Linked DNA regions of Homo sapiens: regions 2 and 3 are each linked to region 1. Evidence: promoter capture Hi-C in 16 types of primary human blood cells and fetal thymus (Javierre and others, 2016). All regions are on one chromosome and are shown on one strand. Each heading gives the region's core, a stretch centred on a gene start or on the middle of the fragment in contact. The rest is flanking DNA. Distances are from core to core; before and after follow the strand shown. Region 1 holds the start of RANBP17 (RAN binding protein 17). Region 2 overlaps RANBP17 (RAN binding protein 17). Region 3 overlaps RANBP17 (RAN binding protein 17).

Region 1 (3,249 bases), core at 530-3,029:
CAGCTAACTTTTCCAACACTGTGCCTAAATATGAAGAAGTCTTCCAGGGCTTGGTGATTTAACTGTACATCACCTTTCCATGTATGAAAAAATTCCAAAGTTCCACCATACCTTTTAATTTACTCTCAAGATTTACTCGGGCTCTGTGAACATCTGATTACCTATTTACAATCCATAAATCCTCCTTGTAAGATTCTTCCTGTGAAAATTTCCCAGAGGGCATATTTACTAAAGTGGTAATACATTATTTTGACCTGAGGACCCTTAGAAATGGCATGAAGTCAAAAGGTAATGTGTCGGGCTTACTACATAACATTCTAGAACTGTCGATTATCAGACAGTAACTGGTTTTAAAAAAAAGACCCTTTAGAAGAATCAATAAATCAGCCAAGTTATAAATCAGTGTGATCACAGGGGGTTCAAAAGAGTCTACAAGGGGAATGAGATTCTTAGATACACTGTCACCATATTATGAAATTCCCTTCCCTCCCTGGGGTCATCTCCTGCCACCCACTGCCTCCCCTGATCCCATCCCTTTGTCCCAACCAGACTCAACTTTCTGCAGTACACCATGTTCTTCCACAATTCTTTGCCTTGGCTCACACGTCCTTCTACCTCCATATCCTTCCCTTCCTCTTCACCTGGCAAACAACTACGACTCTTTCAAGGACCAGTAGACTGCAAGTTCCCTGAGAGTAGAAACCATAGTTTTGTTCAGAGCTGTTGTATCTTCAGCGCCTAGCATAGTAGGCGCTCAATAATTAATAAATGGAAGAATGGAGGCTCAAAGAATCTTAAAGCATCTCTCAGCTAAGAGCATAGCAGCTCTGCTTCACTCCTTCTCAACATACACATTTGGCTGGCTACCCCCTTTTCTGTGCTATGATACTGTGACTATTTCTACCATACATTTTTCACTTGTACTGTAATTCTCTGTTAACTGTATGAGGGCGAGGATAGTAAGATGTCATCCTTTATCCCCAGAACTTTCCACAATGCTTGAGACACAGTGGGGAGATAATAAATGTTTGCTGAATAACTGAACGGGGATGTCAGAGCAGCCCGAGGATATACAAGCACGCGTCCCATCTTCGTAGCCTCTGCGATCCTCGCGTCCGCGCCCGCGCCCGCGCCCGGCCCGGGTTTCCTCCTCCGAAGAGGCGGCCGCGTAGCCCTCCCTCGCAACTCCCCCCAGACGCAGCCCCTGTCTCCTCTGGCCAATTAAAGTCCAACCGCTGCCGCCGCTCCTTCGGTGGATCCCAAGCCCCCGCTCCGGCTGGGGCTCAACTGTGTGGAGGGAGGCTGACGATAGAGCCGCGCCGGCGACGCGGCGGGAAGGCGGGAAGGCTGCTCCACCGCTCGGCAGCCGCGCGAGGCGCGCCAAAGCCGGCCCAGCTGGGACTCCCACCTGCCCTGGCAACACTAAAGCCGCGGTCAGCGAGCGTGCTGCCGGCGTCCGCACCTTCCCCGGGACGAGCCCTGGGCCTGTCCCCCGCCCCCTCCACCCGCCGCCTCCAACCCAGGCTCGGCCGCCCCTTTCTCGGGCTCCGGCCCGGGCCTGGGGTGTGCAGCCCAGACCAGTGTCCCGGTCCCCGGCTAGGGGCAGAGGCAGGGGCTGGGACTCCGGGGACACCGGCCCACGGCCCTGCGGCCTCCGCCGCTGTCCTCGGCCCTCGGTCTCCAGACGCGTCCCGCCGGGTTCCCAGCGTGGCGGAGCGCGGGCCCGCGGCGCAGAGCACACTGACCTGGAAGTGCAGCGCCATCTTCCCAGGAGGCGGCGCCGGCCAGCCGGCCGGTCGGCACCCAGCGCCCGAGGGGAGGGAGCAGAGGCGGGCGCCGCGGAAGCCCCAGACGCCCGCGGGGTCCCTGCGCCGCTCGTCCTTCGCAGCCTCAGCCAGGCTTCGCGTCCGCATTCGAAGCGCTGGAGGGGCGGGGCTGGGAGGGACGGGGCGGGGCTGGGAGGGACGGGGCGGGGCGACGGAGGCGGTGCACGGGGCGGGGCCGATAGGGGCGTGTCCTCCGGGAATCTCAACCGTCCCTTGCGCTCAAGTTTCAACCGGCGTGTGTTGGTGGGTCATGACCTCCAACCTCTGCCCTTTGACACAACTACCACGACCCACCCGTCAGCCGTGGACCCTGACTCATAAGTCTTCCAAAGGCTCTCTTGACCCCTGACCCTCAAAATACAACTATCGCCCATGGCTCCCGACACCTGCATCTCCACAGATTTTCTTGTCTCCTAACAGCCAGGAACCACAGACACACACAGCCATAACCTTTGACTCCCACATGCCAGCTGTTGCCCTTGACCCCTGACTCCCAGGGCCCAAATTCCATTGTTGCTTAACAATGTTTTTAACTTGATTTTGGTTAAAATTAAACCGCCCATGTCTACATGCTGTTAAGTTGTAAAATTCAAGCTTTACCTCATTCTTTGTCTGCATTTTGTTTAATATGAACTTATATTTTACAACAAATGATTCCACTGCAATGAGAATTTATTGGAGCAGAATTGGGTCAAAGTTGCTGCTTTCTGATGTTCTCCGTTTTTTCTTCAAGTTCAGCATTTCCATTTGGGAGCACTGTGCTGTAGTATTTAAGAGGGAAACTCCCTTAAGCACTTCTTGTATTCAGGTCTGCTAACAACAAAGTCTCTCAGCTTTTGTTAACATAAAATCATCTTAATTCACCTTCATTTTTTAAAGGATAGTTTTGCTGGGTATAGAATTTCACATTGGCTTTTTTTTTAATCTTTCAGCATTTTAAAAATGTCTTCTCATTGTCTTCTGCTTGTCATTGTTTCTATTGAGAAATCAGCCATCAGTCTAATTGTTGCTCCTGTCTTTTGGCCCCCTCCTCAGGTACTTGAACATTTTTCTCTTTTTTTATTTTTTCTTTTTGTCTTCAGCACTTTGTGCTTGATGTCGCTAAGTGTGTGTGTGTGTGTGTGTTGTATTTATCCTGCTTGGGATTCATAAAGCTCTTTAAGTGTGAATGTAATCTTTTTTATCAAGTTTTGAAAAATCTTGGTCACTAGTTCTTTAAATATTGCATCTGTCCCCTTCTCTCTCTCTACCTCTCCATTCTGGAACTCCAGTTACATGTATGTTATAAGTTTTTGCTATATTCCTTATTTCTATTCTGTATTTTTTATTTGCCTGCTGTCCATTCCATAGAAACTCTGTTCTGCTGTGTCTGAGCTGCTATACATCCCCTCTATTGAATTCTTAGTTTTAGTTATAATATTTT
Region 2 (3,249 bases), core at 375-2,874, 340 kb before region 1:
ACATATATGCCTAGCCATTTAATAAAGTCTTGATTTATATAAATTCTTGTTTAAAAAAATATTTAGAGATGTAGTGTTTTAGTATGTGTATGTTTGTGCATTCCTCCATATAGATCTGTTGTAACATAACAGTGCAGGATAGATGAGGGAATAGGGGTGTTTAAAGTGGTGTACCCACAAGAAATATCCTATTAAAGATAGTAACTGCCAGAGGAAACAAATCTATGTCATCTTATCATGAACTGACTGTCCAAAACTATTTGCTGACCTCAAAGTCCATTTGTCTAAGAAACTAGAAAAATGCTTAAATAAAAGTAAAAATTAAAGACATGCAATTGGGAAAGCAGGTCTGAGGAGGCAAAGAGTACACACAGATATGCAAAGCCCTTTTCTGGATCTAGATATCCTAGAAAAAACAAAACTGTCATTCCTCATATTTGGAAACAAACCCACCTTTACATCTTCTTGTTTAAAGTTGTTGTTGAATATTTGTAATACTGTTTCAAAAGCAACTGTAAGAGGCAGCATGAAATTCTCAAATTCATCCTCATCTTCACCTATCAGAGAAACAAAAGGGTCACTACGGTTTAAAATGCATAGAATTGTACATTGTCCTCAGCATTGAGTGCTTCATTTAGGCTTAGAAATATTCCCGAGAAGGGGTCAGCCTGCATTCACATCCATGCCACATTTTGTACTTTTGCTCACTGAATATTCTGGTGTTGTGCCTTCTCTTTTGCATCAAATGAAATAGCAAAATTACTTACCAGCCATTTTTTTTTTCCTGGTTCTTTAGTGGATCTAATAGACTCATGCCCCAGGCATCTCAGTCCTTTAGCTCCTAGGGCCCCTAGAGCTTCTCTAATGCCTCAAGGAAGACCACTTTCAAAGCCTCAGAGACGCAGTGTTTTTTTTTTCCCCCTTCTCTTTGGGTGCCAAGGCCCTAAAGGGCTCAAAGACTCAGGTGCCCAGATAGCTCTAAGTTATTATTCTCTTTTATTTATGTTCTTTTTAATTAATTTATCAAATAAATGGCAGGGAAACTTTTATCTGCCAAAAAGGATGGGGTCCCTTATGGGTCATTTGGATTTTAAATACATTCTCCATGGGTACACTTCTTACACTAAGCTTCCTTTTTTTTCTCTTTTTTTTTAAATAGAGAAGAGGGAAAAGAGACATTTCCTATTAACTTTTTACTTTAAAGGTAGACTGCAGTTTCCTCAAGGATTCTGTCAAAGCAGAATCTTCACTTCACACATGGATATGCACAATTGATAATTTATATAGTATTCTTTTTCAAAAGGGGTTTCTTTTAAATGAGAGATTGAATTCACTCATTCATCCTAAGTCACAGGGAGCTACGAGCTGCACTCTACTGAAGAAACAGGCAGAGAAAGGTTAAGTGTCTTGCTTAAGGTGGAATACTTAGTTGGAGGTGGAACGACATGGTTCAGACCTCCTAATTTCTATTCTAACAGTAGAGTTTTTCAATAGAGTATTAGAGAGGAAATGAGCTCAGAGAAGGTCCTCAAAGTTTGGTCCTTGACCTGGGAGCATCAACATCACTTGTGAACTTGTGAGATGTAAATGCCCAGGTTCCATCCCATATCTATTGAATCAGAAACTCTGGGGGTGGGTCCCAGCAATTTTGTTTTAATAGGCCCTCCAGATGATTCAGATGCCTGTGAATGTTCGAAAAACACTGGCATCTATAGTCATTTTTCAGACAAAGTAACGGAGGTCCTGGCAGGATCAAGATCTTTTGACTCTTAAGGAGTGGCTGATCTGGCTGACTCTAATCTTCTGTGATTTATCTCTTTCCTTCAATTTCACATTGTTTCAGGAGTACAACAGAATTGGGGACTTAGCTTTGTTACAAACAGATGCCAAAGGGCCAACAAATCTTTACTGGTGTGCCGTTCTAAACGAAGGTCAGTATCCTGAGTAAAGAGTAAGGCAGACCAAATTATAATCTCTTCTCTGTCAACTGGCTGTGTGACCAAGTGACTCCTCTTAGATACACTCTTCTCTGTTAACTGGTGATAACATAGACCTATACAGATGTTATTTTTCAAGGCCCAGGTGAAATAATATCTTTCCCAATGTCTAAGCTAAGCTTTCCTAAATCCCAATCAAGTTATCTCCCTTCTCCCTTTGGATTCCCATAGCATTTTGCCTGGCTTGTTTTGAGACGGAGTCTTGCTCTGTCATCCAGGCTGGAGTGCAGTGGCACGATCTTGGCTCACTGCAAGCTCTGCCTCTCAGGTTCACGCCATTCTCCTGCCTCAGCCTCCTGAGTTGCTAGGACTACAGGCGCCTGCCACAACGCCCGGCTAATTTTTTTGTATTTTTAGTAGAGATGGGGTTTCACCGTGTTAGCCAGGATGGTCTTGATCTCCTGACCTCGTGATCCGCCCGCCTCGGCCTCCCAAATTGCTGGGATTACAGATGTGAGCCACAGCGCCCGGCCGCCTGGCTCTTAACTATTGTACCGGTCTGCCTTGAATTGCAGATATTTAAGCATACATCTAATAATAGCAACAATAATACCACTTACATTATACCACAACTACCATCTGATCAGGGTTACTGCGGGAACTAAATGAGATAAAATTTATAAAGTATACATGTAAATTACTAGCTCTACTAGCTTACGCTGATAGTATCTTCGGATTAGCTTCTATGGCACTGAGACTGTGTATCTTTGAGTTTCTCAGTGAAGGAGAATTATGTAGGGCTCGGCAGTAAACAGGTCCAGGTGTCTGACTTTACCGTATATTATTTACCTTTGGATATTTTACTAATTACTCTGAGTCTCAGTTTCCTCATCTATAAAATAAGTATAAAAATACTTATCATTGAGGGTCACTGTGAAGATTAAATGTTATAATACATGGAAAACAGAAGATGCTCAATAAATATTAGTGGTGATACTAGCACTATAGTATTAGCACAGAATAGAGCCTGGCATTATTAGGGAAATACTGTGTTTAGATAAAAAGTAATTTCTCAATTAAGGTGAATTTTAGAACATCTTTATTTTCTTAACACTTGACATAGAATAATACAATAAATAATTGAAATATACATTATCAAATCCTAAATACATAAAATATATGCTCATTATACTTAAGCCATGTAATCTTACTCTTCTAAGATAAAGTATTTTCTAAATGTGGAATTATTAATGAGAACAGTGGTAACTACCACTGCAGGCATGTAATGGTGCTAGAAAGAATGGATGCTTTG
Region 3 (3,249 bases), core at 489-2,988, 300 kb before region 1:
TAAGAAAACTTGGAGTGACCACTTTGGCCTCACATTTCCTTCGCTCCACATCCTGTGGCACAAAGCATGAACTCAGCAGGCTGGGGTGCAGGGCTGCCTGCTGCCTTGTGATAATCCCCTCTCCCAGTAGGGGCCTCCACTGATGCATGGCTAAGAACATGCTTCCTCTTTTGCTTGCACCCCAGTGGGGTTTCCATTTCTAACTTGGGCCCAAATCCAGACTGCTAAGGAAGGTGGAAAAGTCAGAAAGCTCCAGATGCTGTCAGAGATATTTCTGAGTCAGTTTCTAAACAATAATTTATTAGAAAGAGTACAGGTATAATGTGAAAACCAGCAAGGCTGGTAATTTTGGAGAGATTCTTTTCCTCCCACCCCCAAGCAGATCTAGGGTCTAACTACCACCTGTTCAACAGAAGCTGGCTGTTTGCCTTACTTTCCTTCAGGGAGCCACTGACTAAGGATCTCCACCAGCATGAACCTAATGCCTCCCGACAGGCCTTCCCTAGCCAAGAGGGACCTGGGTTGAGTGCACCAGTTACTGGTCACAGGATATGCAGTCCACAGAAAGACTCCTGTGGTGCAACCAGCTGAAAGCCAACCAGAGAAAATGGAGAGTGTACATTTGTCCTGACACAGCTTTGCTCCTGTTGGCTGCCAATTCACTCCATGTCTGGGGCCAAGCTTCTGTTAAACTAGTCTTCTATGGATAAAGCCATGGTAAAGCCCTGGGTAAATATATTATCTCCCCAAGCCCATTCAAAAAGAAGCTAACTATGGCTATGGCACCAGATGCTTGGGAAGAAGGCTTAATTTTAGTAGAGGATTTTGGGACCATGGTTTGAAAGAGCATTTCAGACAGTTAAAGGAATATTTATAATTCTTTGCAATAGCAAGTTTATAAGATGACGATTAAATTTTAGGGCAAAGAAGCTGATGCTGGATGAAGTTTGTGAGAGGGTGATAGCAGAGGTGGGGAACTGGGAAGTAAAATATTTTGTTTAATCCCCCGTACCTCCTAAAGGTGTCAGCCAGAAACACATTCTGACACAAGGGATACATGTGCTCTAGACACTGTTCAATAACAGATGCTATTCAATGTAGCCAAATAAAACTTTCTTAAGTATTAATAACTGATTATAATTGGTTACTCAGCAATGTTAGCATCAAGAAATCTAGGATGCTTTTGTACTATGCAACCACATTAAATATAGGCTTTGCAGCTAATACTGCTTATTAGTGGACTACTAAACCTTTGGCTATAAAATATGAACATTGTAGAATTATATAATGCATAAAAAGGGAATGAAGACAATGCATGCCTACACTTAATCATTGTATGCATATGCCTGTTTTACTAATTAGAATCTGAGGCTGTAGTGAGACAAGCATAAAGATTGCTGGTCCACCATCATAACCAGCAACCCAACTCACCTTAACTATTTTCCAAGCCTTCTCTGGAACTCTGGGTACATCACTCCTCAGGCGTACAACCTAAAAAGCACAAAGTTTAGGGACCTGCCACCTGGCACCAGAAATAAGAGCAAAAGGCCTCCCCAATCTCAAATAAAAGGAGAAAGTGGCTGACAATCTTTGTGGTTGTTACTTATGATATTCTTGGGACTTTGATTTTATTCTGGAGCCCATGAGCAGAGACATGGTGAAGTCCTGTTCAAATTCTGGATGTGGTTATATGAATGACAATGGGATTGCTTCAGTGAGATAATTCCAGAAACCAGTTACTAAAAGCTAGCCCTAAAAAAGAATAAATCATAAATAATATTTGACAGAATGATTTTTAAGAATCTCAGCCGGGCGCGGTGGCTCACGCCTGTAATCCCAGCACTTTAGGAGGCCGAGATGGGTGGATCACCTGAGTTCCAGACTAGCCTGGCCAACAAGGTGAAACCCTGCTTCTACTTCTACTAAAAATACAAAAAATTAGCAGGGCGTGGTGGCACGCGCCTGTAATCTCAGCAACTTGGGAGGCTGAGGCAGGAGAATCACTTGAACCCAGGAGGCAGAGGTTGCAGTGAGCTGAGACTGCTCCATTGCATTCTAGCCTGGGCGACAAGAGTGAGACTTCATCTCAAAAAAAAAACCAAAAAGAATCTCTTAGTACTGTTTCCCATGAAGCACTTTCATTATAGAAGTGTGGCAACTGAGGCTAATGACTTAAGCAGGCAAAGTAACCTTCTGATTGGCAAAAGTACATCTTTTAACTAGGGTTACAAAGTATAATATCACAAAATAGGAGGTAATCTAGTGAAGTGGTTAGGAATAGATTCTGAAGCCCAAGACTAGTGAGATTCTGCCACTTACTAAGTAATTTTGAGCAAGTTGCTTACCCTTTAAACCTTAGTTTCCTCAAATATAAAAAGGATGAGAGTAGTACCTAATCTGTGGAATTTTTGAGATTAAAATGGTTAATTTATGTGAAGGACCTATAACAGTCCTGGTATACAGTAAAATTTTCATAAGTATTACCTATTATTTTTATTGGAATGTCTCTTTTCTTTGTGCTTTATCTGGACTAGATACTAGAAAACAGATATATGTTCTAAGTGGGTATGTGAGTAGCTTTAGTAGTAGTTAGAGGGGAGAGGGTCTTAATGAAAGGTAACATAACTTCTAATATTAAATAATGGGTCTAGTCTTTGAGTCTTGCAAAGAAATAAAGTAGTAAGAAAAGTGATAGAAAAAAAGTCAGGAGAAAAACAGAATGATCTGTGGTATTTGGTGTTATTTTATCTCAAGAACTTATCTGCATCACCTATATTGCCAGATTCAAAGCTTTCATCCTCATTTTTTGAGTCAATACAAGTTCCTGCTTCCTATCTCCAAGGTAAGTTTTCAACTCACTGAGTAAGTAGATGATCACTGTGTCCAATAAGTTATCAAAGTTTTCCCCATTCAGATCAATAGGTCCATCCAATTGTCCAAATTTTCTTCTTTTTTCTTTTTTTTTTTTTTTTTTTTTTTTGAGATGGAGTCTCACTCTGTCGCCCAGGCTGGAGTGGCATGATCCTGGCTCACCGCAAGCTCTGCCTCCCGGGTTCACATCATTCTCCCGCCTCAGCCTCCCGAGTAGCTGGGACCACAGGCGACTGCCACCACGCCCAGCTAAGTTTTTGTATTTTTTTAGTAGAGACGAGGATTCACCGTGTTAGCCAGGATGGTCTTGATCTCCTGACCTCGTGATCCACCTGCCTCAGCCTCCCAAAGTGCTGGGATTATAGGCGTGAGCCACTG

What was found. The method cuts DNA at HindIII sites, captures the fragments that hold promoters and counts their contacts. A CHiCAGO score of 5 or more calls a contact.
Region 2: a fragment that was not itself captured here is called in contact with the fragment with the promoter of RANBP17 in region 1 in 3 of 17 cell types (megakaryocytes, endothelial precursors and M0 macrophages); the score reaches 5.5 in megakaryocytes.
Region 3: a contact is called between a fragment that was not itself captured here and the fragment with the promoter of RANBP17 in region 1, in 2 of 17 cell types (megakaryocytes and M2 macrophages). The highest score is 5.9, in megakaryocytes.

What each region holds. Positions count from the first base shown.
Region 1 is chr5:170,860,548-170,863,796 of GRCh38, reverse strand. It overlaps RANBP17 (RAN binding protein 17), which reads right to left and starts at 1,779. Exons shown (of 28, transcript NM_022897.5): 1 at 1,746-1,779. The coding sequence starts at 1,763. The HindIII fragment of the contact is 4,534 bases long and covers 1-2,422 here.
Region 2 is chr5:171,196,978-171,200,226 of GRCh38, reverse strand. It overlaps RANBP17 (RAN binding protein 17), which reads right to left. Exons shown (of 28, transcript NM_022897.5): 19 at 454-557. Among named protein-coding and RNA genes, the nearest start is that of TLX3, 110 kb to the left of the region's middle. The HindIII fragment of the contact is 988 bases long and covers 1,131-2,118 here.
Region 3 is chr5:171,159,649-171,162,897 of GRCh38, reverse strand. The region is part of intron 14 of RANBP17 (RAN binding protein 17); the gene reads right to left. Among named protein-coding and RNA genes, the nearest start is that of TLX3, 150 kb to the left of the region's middle. The HindIII fragment of the contact is 2,109 bases long and covers 684-2,792 here.